Linked DNA regions of Homo sapiens: regions 2 and 3 are each linked to region 1. Evidence: promoter capture Hi-C in 16 types of primary human blood cells and fetal thymus (Javierre and others, 2016). All regions are on one chromosome and are shown on one strand. Each heading gives the region's core, a stretch centred on a gene start or on the middle of the fragment in contact. The rest is flanking DNA. Distances are from core to core; before and after follow the strand shown.

What was found. Contacts are between HindIII fragments. The CHiCAGO score rates a contact against its expected background, and 5 or more counts as called.
Region 2: a fragment that was not itself captured here is called in contact with the fragment with the promoter of FN1 in region 1 in 2 of 17 cell types (M0 macrophages and monocytes); the score reaches 5.0 in M0 macrophages.
Region 3: a contact is called between a fragment that was not itself captured here and the fragment with the promoter of FN1 in region 1, in 1 of 17 cell types (non-activated CD4 T cells). The highest score is 6.0, in non-activated CD4 T cells.

What each region holds. Positions count from the first base shown.
Region 1 is chr2:215,434,433-215,437,740 of GRCh38, forward strand. It overlaps FN1 (fibronectin 1), which reads right to left and starts at 1,636. Exons shown (of 46, transcript NM_212482.4): 1 at 1,223-1,636; 2 at 264-392. The coding sequence starts at 1,370. It overlaps FN1-DT (FN1 divergent transcript), which reads left to right and starts at 1,259. Exons shown (of 2, transcript NR_187198.1): 1 at 1,259-1,877; 2 at 2,487-3,308. RefSeq lists an enhancer at 1-147 and silencers at 1,660-1,719, 1,730-1,819. The HindIII fragment of the contact is 4,490 bases long and covers 1-3,308 here.
Region 2 is chr2:215,947,347-215,950,776 of GRCh38, forward strand. All of the region lies in intron 2 of MREG (melanoregulin), which reads right to left. Among named protein-coding and RNA genes, the nearest start is that of MREG, 64 kb to the right of the region's middle. The HindIII fragment of the contact is 4,786 bases long and covers 1-3,430 here.
Region 3 is chr2:215,964,697-215,967,860 of GRCh38, forward strand. The region is part of intron 2 of MREG (melanoregulin); the gene reads right to left. Among named protein-coding and RNA genes, the nearest start is that of MREG, 47 kb to the right of the region's middle. The HindIII fragment of the contact is 163 bases long and covers 1,386-1,548 here.

The DNA.
Region 1 (3,308 bases), core at 386-2,885:
AATCTTTCATTTTTCTCATCAAAAACTTTGGGAGAGTAAAGCAAAAAGAAGACTCTAGGAACTAATTTGGGAAAGATTCGTTTCTTTGTTTTAAAGGTAAAAGCATGTGAAAAGCAAATATAAGCAGTTTTTAAACTTAAGAGGAAATGACAGGTAATTCTATTAGAAAAATGGTGTATGTATTTTTACTTACTAATGCAAAGTTTAACAATTACCACTTCATGTATTAAAAGATACTAACTATGGGGCTTGTTGTCACTTACCTTCAGGTTTACTCTCGCAGTTAAAACCTCGGCTTCCTCCATAACAAGTACAAACCAACGCATTGCCTAGGTAGGTCCGCTCCCACTGTTGATTTATCTGATAGTGTTTTCCATTGTCATAACAACCGGCTGCAAATAATTGAAGGAAAACGTTACATTTGCATTTCTCCTTTTCCCAAAATTATGGAATTTTCTTCATGTGAATATTGACGTACATATTTTTTTCCTTTTAACTTTGCTAAAAGTTATATACAATGATGTCATTTCCATCTGGCCAGGGGTCTACATAAAAAAGTTGGAAACATTTTGGAAGGCAGACAATTGAAGTCACATTTTTAAAACATGCAAGGAACTTAAATATTCTTTTGGAGTAATAGTCAAAAAGGACAACTTTAAGCAGCTTTCTCAAAGCAAAAGGAGGGTGTGTCTTTGAAAAACGGAAAGAATTCCAACCTCTGTTCTTGGTGAAGTATCCTGAGCGGCCCTAAAGAGGTCTGAACCAATTACATCTCTTCCAAGTTAGTTAGAAACAAGACAGCTATTTCAATACCCCCTTTCCACCCCCATGTTGAAAATATTTGACCAATTATTTAACAGAAGGAAATAAGTAGCAGTAAGGACCACACTAATCCCAGACGGAAAATTTATAGACATGCATCATTTTTCTCTTTAAAGGCAAGTTTTGGTTAATTCCTAGAAGGACAATCTGAACGTGCAGAATTTATTAGAACACGGGAAAGTCGCAGAGTCCTCGTCCTCCAATGCACGGTCTTATCATCCCAGGCCCTCAGAACCAGCGTGCTCAAAACTCGGTCCTTTTGTGTGCACAGCTGGTTTCTCTCAGTAAAGCGCGCACACACTCGCACACACGCGCGCGCACAAAACTTCAGCCCCAACTTTGGTCGGCTTTAGGGTCCCATCCCTGAGGCAGCCTGTTTCAGCCCGCGGTCAGTACTCACGCTTGCTTTGACTGACAGCCACCGGGGACTGGGGCTGAACCATTTGCTGAGCCTGCCTCTTGCTCTTCGAGGCTCCCGTGGAGGGCACCGCTGTCCCCAGGCACTGGACGGCCAGCAGCAGCAGCCCGGGCCCCGGACCCCTAAGCATGTTGAGACGGTGGGGGAGAGACGCCCGCACCGGGAGGCAAGTTGCCACCAAGTTTGCTTCCCTTCGCAACCTGCGGGAAAAATCCCTTCTAATGCCTCCCGGGGGTTGTCGCCTCCAAGAAGGTGGGGGCCAGAGGGTGGGGAAGGGGACGGGTGGAGGGACAGAAGGGATGCAGAGGACCAGAGAAGTTGTGGCTGCAGGTCCCCTCTTCCCGCTCGCGCCTGGGGTTCCCTCTCCTCCCCCTGTGCAGCACAGCCGGCGCGGGCGTCCGAGCGCCGGGAGCCGGGGCTTATATGGGACGGTCCCCTCCCGCCCCTCTGGAGGCCCGGGGCGCGGGGGAGGAGAGACCCGCCGGGCTGTCCCCGCCCCGCCCCACCCCACCCGCCCGCCCGCCCGCCGGCCGCCGCAGCCGACCGCGCGCCGATTGGCCCGGGCTCCGGGTGACGTCACGGGGGACTGTGGGTTCGCAGCGAACAAAAGAGATGCTGATGGCCCGCCAGGACTGGGGCAAGACAACTTTTTTTCGGTTTCCTTTGCGGTCATCAAACTTTTTAGGGGATGGGGGAAGGGATGGGAAGCGGCTGGGAGGAAAGGGAGTGGCTGGACTTGTGTGAAGCGAAGGGGTTGCAAGACGCTCCCCCTTCCCTTTTCTTTTTTATTGGGGGTGGTGGTAGTGTTTGAGGACATTGCGTCACCTCTCTTCGGGGTGGAGGGGGGGAATCTCTGCTTATAGGAGTGTATTTTGTGAGGAAGAAAACCCATAAAATATCCACGACCTTGCAGCTGTTAAGAATCCAGACTTTTCAGTCCCAGGGCGGGGCTGCCTTTCCCCCCATCCCGCTCCCTTTCTTTGGACTAAAGGGTACTGACTCGGGACTCCCTTATTTTGTCTTCACAGCTCCCTGTTCGGACTTCTTCCCTTCTCAGCGCTGTGCCTGTCTGGCTCTGAGAAAGGGCCAGCGGGCGAACGGGGAGCAAAGGGGAACAGAGACCTTTAATGAGCTTCTACTAAGTACCGGGAGTTCCGCGGGGCGCTTTGCAGATCCCGGGGAAGTTCAGAGAATGAAGTTTTCTTTTGCAAGGACAAAGTAACAGTTTACTTTTTTACACATGCAGGAAAGCCTTCCTTTCCTGGGGATGGGACGCCCGTTTCCACTGAAAGTGAAATCACTGTGAACAACCTGAAAATTGGAAAGTTGGACCAGCTGTGGGGAGAGAAAGGTCTTCGTGTCCTTTCCCACGTTCACCGTGCCAGTTACACACAAAGCAGAGATTTTTTTGCTTGAATCATTAAAAGCCGGGTGGGTGGGGGGCACCCTATGTACTGTCTTGCCCTCCTTCGGCCCCTTTCTCACATTTATTTGCCATTTTCTTTTTGCTGACAAGTTCCATTACAGAATGCCCCCTCCATCCCCCGCCGCCAGATTTTTTATATTTCAATTGTTATTTACTCCAAGAGTGTGGAAAGTTCTCCTTTAAGATTCCCCCGCCTTGAACTCTAAACTCAGAGTGGAAAGGGAATCTGAAAAGTCTCTCATTTAGCAACACATCACATCAGTCCTTTTTGTCAGATAAACACAGGCACAATTGCTTTTAAAGATCTTCAGAAGGAGGAGTCCACCACTTCCACAGTAGATCCAGAGAGACCCGAACTGAATGCTTTGCCTTCTCCTTGTGTTAGGAGTTCAGAGGTTCCATTTGCTTTAAAACACAAGAAGCTACTAATAAAATATATTTATTTCGGCAAGGTACCTATTTTCTCCAAAAGTTTCACCTTCAGTAATTGCCACAGGAGTAATTAGAACTCTGTGTTCTATAAAATGCCTGACACATTAAAGACACAAAATTAGCATTTGTTTTTATTCATGCAAGGATTTAAAACCAAACCAAAACAAAGCAAAACACCCAGCAAATATCAGTTTCCTACAAATAGTGTAA
Region 2 (3,430 bases), core at 384-2,883, 510 kb after region 1:
ACTGAAACTCTTCATATTACATATTCTCTCAATTTAGTGATCTCACCTGTAAAGTGGAGTTAACAATGATAAATATTCCATTTAAGAATGTTATAAAGATTGATGGCATACAGAAAGTACAATATCTGCACACAGTGAGCATCTAATAAAATCTATATATTATTAAAGCCATTTTATAGATACAGTAACTGAGGCCCAAAGAGCTTCCTTGGCTAATCCAATGTCATCAGCTAATAGGTATCAGAATAGATATTGGAAGCCAAGTCTGGCTCAAAAGTTCATAAGAAACAGACACACACAAAAAAATCTATGTCTCCCTTTGTAGTCAGAATAAAGTAGACCTGAAAATCCCAAGTTTCTTGATTCCTGGGCAATGTCTCCTTCACCACCATATCTCAGCAACATTCTTTTTTATTCATTTTCCTTTGATAGGATGAATCTGTCACAAATTCAACTTTATCAACTGATTAAAGTTCTTTATCAGTCCTATGTAAAGGAGGCCATCATGTTGTTCCAATACAGAACTTGAATCTTTTAGGAGCATTGGGGTCTTTATTGAGATAAGTGTGCCTTTAAAATGTCATAGAAATTTGTCTTTAAGGAGGCTTGTCACTATAGAGCAGTCATTTTATAGAGTATACCTTTTACTGTTTCTTAGCAAAGACATTAACCACACAGCTATCCTAATGCACAGCCCAAAAGAACATCATTCTAAATGCTCAATTTAGGACTCAAGTTATATGATATTTTGACTCCTCTAACTGAAAATGTTTCAATGATGCCATTATTTCTCTACTAAGTTCTGTACAAGGCTTGCCTTGTTGATTGGCAATCAACTCATGACTGTTTAAGAAAAACCAATTTAGCTGCCATTCGCAAATGTTTATAGATACCACTTGGAAAAAGAAAAGCTAGCAAAACAAACTGTGTTTTGTTACGACGGCATTTTAGATCTTGAATCTGAGGATATGCCATCAGCAGGGCATGGGCTTTCAGCTATTTTCTAGAAGTCAGGAAGTGGCAAGTTTGAACAATTTCTCCTGGTCCTCTTTTATTTTACCAAAGGCATGTTGAACGTGCATGTGCACATGTGCATGGTGATTGGGGTCAGGGACAAAATCTGTGACCTTGGAAGAGGGCAAAGTTAACTAAGTCATATAAGAAATATGCAACCCTAGCCACATCTTTAGCATCATGTTAAGGCATACCTATCTAATCCCTCACAGACTATATAAGTTGTAAGGGAAAAAACTCAAGTACTGCTGTCTTCATTGGAAGGGCCTTATTATACTTACTTGGCCACTCAGTATAGCATATTGGAAAATACTGTGGGTGCTGAGCCTGAGTGTCTGGGTTTGAATCCCAGCTCTGTTATTTACTAACAGCCTGACTTCAGGGAAGTTCTTAACCTCACTGTTCCTCAATTGCCTCATCTGCAATATGGGGATAATAAAACTACCTACCTACCTCATTGGCTTATTGTGAGGATCAAATGAGTTAATACAAGTCCTTAAAATGGAGGTTGGTCCACATGCTCCTCCAAATCAGTGTAGCACAATTAAGAAACAATCCTAGGTCAAGGACGCTGGCTCACACCTCTAATCCCAGCATTTTGGAACACAGAGGTGAGCAGATCACTTGAGGTCAGGAGTTCGATACCAGCCTGGCCAGCATGGCAAAACCCTGTCTCTACTACTACTACTACTACTACTACTACTACTACTACTACTACTACTACTACTAATAATAATAATAATAATACAAAAATTAGCTGGAGGTGGTGGCACACACCTGTAATCCCAGCTACTCAGGAGGCTGAGGCAGGAGAATCACTTCAACTCAGGAGGCAGAGGTTGCAGTGCGCAGAGATCGCACCACTGCACTTCGGCCTGGGTGAGAGTGAGACTTTGTCTTAAAAAAAAAAAAAAGAGGGCCAGGCATGCTGGCTCATGCCTATAATCCCAGCACTTTGGGAGGCTGAGGCGGGTGGATCACTTGAGGTCAGGAGTTTGAGACCAGCCTAGTCACTACGGTGAAACCCCGTCTCTACTAAAAATACAAAAAATTTGCCGGGTGTGGTGGTGTGTGCCTGTGGTCCCAGCTACTCAGGAGGCTGAGGCAGGAGAATTGCTTGAACCCGGGAGGCAGAGGTTGCAGTGAGCCGAGATCACGCCTGTGCACTCCAGCCTGGGCAACAGAGCAAGACTCTGTCTCAAAAAAAAAAAAAAAATCCTCCAGGACTCAGAATTATTTCTACTATGAGCATGGAGGCCATGATACATTACATTATGCAGTATGCAATTTGTGAGGACCTCCAGAAGAAAAATTGCTCTGCTCTAAGTACTAGATGGTTTTATCTTTCCTAAAAATTATTTCATCTTTCTGGATGTTGTAAATTTTATAACTGATCCATTTCCACTTGTGCCTGAAAATTTCAAGTCCTTTCATGAAAAAATATATACATACAGGATTTCACAAGCATTTTTGAATTACTTCAATTTCTGGCTACTTGTTATGACTTTATTCATATTTTCCTCTTTCTTTCCTGTCTTATTCTAGTTTATCTTATCTCACTATACTTTTATGTAAGTTGCCTTAACTCCTTTTAGATAAAAAGATGACAATAAAATAAACAAAATATTAGGCAGAGCTACACTGTGCTTATTCTCAGTGAAAATGACCCTGCTTTCTGGACTTCATGAAAAGTGACCAGATTGTTAGTCACACTTGATTAGAGACCCACTCAATCAATCCAAGGATGAGTTGCCTCGTATGTTCACACAACTTTAACTTATGAAACAAACCACTAGGTGGCTTCTCCAACTTGCAATTAAAGGTCTCTGACAATTTTTTTTAGCTCCTTAGGCTGATGTCTTAGGCCTTGTTCTAAATGCAGCCAAATCTCTGTTTTTCAGAGACTCATTCATCATTGGATCATCCAGGCTTTGGACTTTTAAAACATCCTTCCCTTCCTGCTGTCCATCGATTAGTCATTTTGCTATTCCTAAATATCTACAATGAATGTTATACGAATTCATTCAGTTTCAGTGTCTGTTACTCTGATAAAACATTTAATGGGGAAGCAACACATAACTAATAATCAATATGAGATTAAAGATCTGCTAAGGATGGATCCATAGTTGATGCATCTTTGGATCCCACCTTCCCCTACCATGGTTTGGGGACAGCTTGCACATGACAGGTGGTTGTTAAAATTAGTTCAATGAAACTATGGATGTCATACTTCCATATTATTACTGTCTTCTTTTGACAGAATAGTCATGAATAATTATACATGAAAGTATCTGGAAATTTTATGCAAAATTTAAAGCTCTAAAACCAGTAGAAGCATTGACAGGGTTTTAACTAAGAATAGACACTTGATTACATAATTGGTAAGAGGAGAATCTGGATTCCTCTTAAACATGTG
Region 3 (3,164 bases), core at 217-2,716, 530 kb after region 1:
AAGGGGCTATTTTGTATTATGATTGAGTTATAAAATTTCTGTCACTTTCTGTGAAAACTATTTGTCAGGATGTATCAAAGCATATAAAAATGGGCAAAATCTTTAACCCAAGAATTCCAGTTCTAAGAATCTAGACAGACAGACAGATAGATAGATAGATAGATAGATAGATAGATAGATAGATAGACAGACAGATATCTCTTTTTAAAATACCAGAAGCAAAATGCAATAAAATAGTACGATAGTATTTATCTTGGCTAGGATTACATGTGAGTGACTTTTTTTCTCCTGTACTTTTCAAATTTTCCACAATGCTCACATACTTCTTTTATAATCAGAACAGAAACTTTAAAATCCCTAAGAATGATTATTTTTAAAGCTTCCTTTGTAAACCTAATCTAGCATCTAATTAGCTCAAAAATGGAAAAGTCTAGGTCTGAGTATGACTATAACTTAAATTTATTTTAAAAGGTATTTGCTATGTTTCAGATGGCAACTCACAGGCCATAACTCATCTGATTTCAAAGAATTTTGTTAAATTGAAAATCCTATTGATACATTTGCAGGTTCCTGTGCATGTCCCAGTATTCAGCTGAAAACACTGTTGCTTCTGTGGGGCATTGACTCTGTATTCCAGGATCTCGCCAGCCTCAAAGGGGAGAAGGCAGACAGGGAGCATGGCGACAGCAAGAACAAGGTGACGACAAGGACAGGAGCCCCAGCAGAGTTGAGGTCATCTTGTGGGATAGGGGAGAACATTCAGCAGAGATAGGCAGGGGATACAGAGGGAGGAAGGAAGAGAAGAAATTAGAAAGTTAAAATGTGCTTTTTTAGAAAAACCAACAATCCTAGAAATCTGACAGTTTCTCATTCTTTAGCCCAAAAGCTTCTTGTTGTAGTGGTCAACCCTTTCCTAATTATTCCTCCAGGATACCTATCACCATGAACCCTACCTTACATTTGCTCTTCCTTTGTTTGCAAGCTGTCAAGTTGTTTATCTCTGCTTGACACTGAACAATTACAGTCCTTTTTTACCTTTACTCCCTAGGAGGAAGAAGTTTAAGCAGCAGGGCTGTGATCCATTCATTGACCTAAAGGGAGTAGGGGACTTGGTGGTGAGAAGAGATGAATGATCCCAGGAAAAAAGGAATGAAGGCAGGTGAACCAATCTAATTTCTCATCAATTGCACCTCCAGGTAATGAGAGGAATGATCTTTGCTAGGAGGAAAAACCTTGTCTACTGAATGCCCTTAGAAGGATGTCTCTGGCCAGAGGATTTCTTAGAATTGCAATACCCAAAATCTTTGAGGCGTGGCTCCCTGGAAAATGTCATGTAGCCAACAAAATAATGAGGGGTATCAAATGGAGTTCTTTTAAAACTTAAAAGCTTTGCACTGTACACCTTACTTAGACCCATTTAGTATTGTGAATCAGAGGGACAGGTCTAGGGAGGGAGAGGGGGTCCCAGGGAGACATCCTCAATGCCCCAGACCTCTCTCTGCTTTATCTGAGCCTCTCAATAGCCTGCCTCTTCGGAATTATTAGTAAAGCTTAATGATGGGTAAAATTCATGATCCGCGTGGATCTGATTTGACAATGGGTTTTGCTCATCCCGCCCCACTTCCATAGCTTGATTTCTACTTTCTAATTTTTCCATATTTTTCATGACCTACCCCAGTTCTTCTCAAATTACCTATATTCTTTTTTTAAGACTTACAGCCACAAACTAAACCACTTCCCTAATCACCCCAAGCACATCTAGAGCACACTGTGTCCCCACAAACAAACCTGGTCACACTGACACTTTAATAAAAGGGGCAGTATGTTGTGCTTGTCAATGGCAATAGGGTTCCTTTAACAGCTGAGAATTATTACTTAAGTTCAAGCCTTGTAAAACATTTTCCCTTTTTTTTTTTTTTTTTTGAGATGGAGTCTCACTCTGTCATCCTGGCTGGAGTGCAGTGGCACGATCTCGGCTCACTGCAACCTCTGCCTCCCAGGTTCAAGCAATTCTCCTGCCTCAGCCTCCCAAGTAGCTGGGATTATAGGCGTGTGCCACCACGCCTGGCTAATTTTTGTATTTTTAGTAGAGACGAGGTTTCGCCATGTTGGTCAGGCTGGTCTCGAACTCCTGACCTCGTGATCCTACCACCTTGGCCTCCCAAAATGCTGGGATTACAGGCATGAGCCACTGCACCTGGCAAACATTTTCCATTACAATTCTAGTATCCCATTCACTGTCCATTTTTACACCCCCATAATCTTTAACTGAGCCTACAGATTCTGCCTCCCTGACTCAAGTGTTGGGGTTTACTCTTACAAACGCTGATGCCAAAAGCCTCAGGCAAAATAATCACTTAAACTGAAGCAGTCCTGGGATTGTCTGGAAAAACTGGTTAACATATTTGTTTATAATTACCCCAGTCTTTCCTCGTTATTATAGACATATGAATGACTCCTCACCAAGCCAGTCACGAAGCTGCCTTTTGGATCATGAATTCTGCAGCCATTCCCAGTTTCTGAGACCTTTACCTTGTCAGTCATCTGCCTGCCTCTTTGTCAACATGATAGGCTTCAGATAAAGCCATTAAAACATTTCCTGTGAATTTAAAACCCCAGAATATGAAAGGAAAATAGCAGAGTGGCACTAGTCCAAGACAGGGTGCATTTTAATATATTTGAAAATTATAGTGCATTTTTTCACTTAGACTAATCTCACATAATAGAGCACTGTTTAGCCATTTTTCAAAAGAAAGAAATCACCAGTAAATGAAAAATGTTTTATACCCATAAATGAAAAAGCTAGAAGATTCTCTCAATCTCTAAAGAGAATCTCTTCTTCCAAAGTATCATAAATCAGGGGGTATAAGAAGTCTTCCTTAAAGAGGCTGCTCATGTGTCCTTTTTGTATGAAAAATTAAATCCACACAGTCATTTGCGCCAAGCCTACTGAGCACCAAGTGGCCTTAAGTAGAGGCCAGCAAACTTTTTATGTGTATTTTATGTTGGGGTTCTGTGTGAGACATCATTAGTAGCAAAAAAGCAGCCATAGTCAGTATGTAACCTCATGGGCACGACTGTGTTCCAATAAAACTTTATTTATAAATAGGCAGCAAACTGGATTTGGCCCATGTGTCATAGTGAGTCCTAAGTGTGAAGGGAAA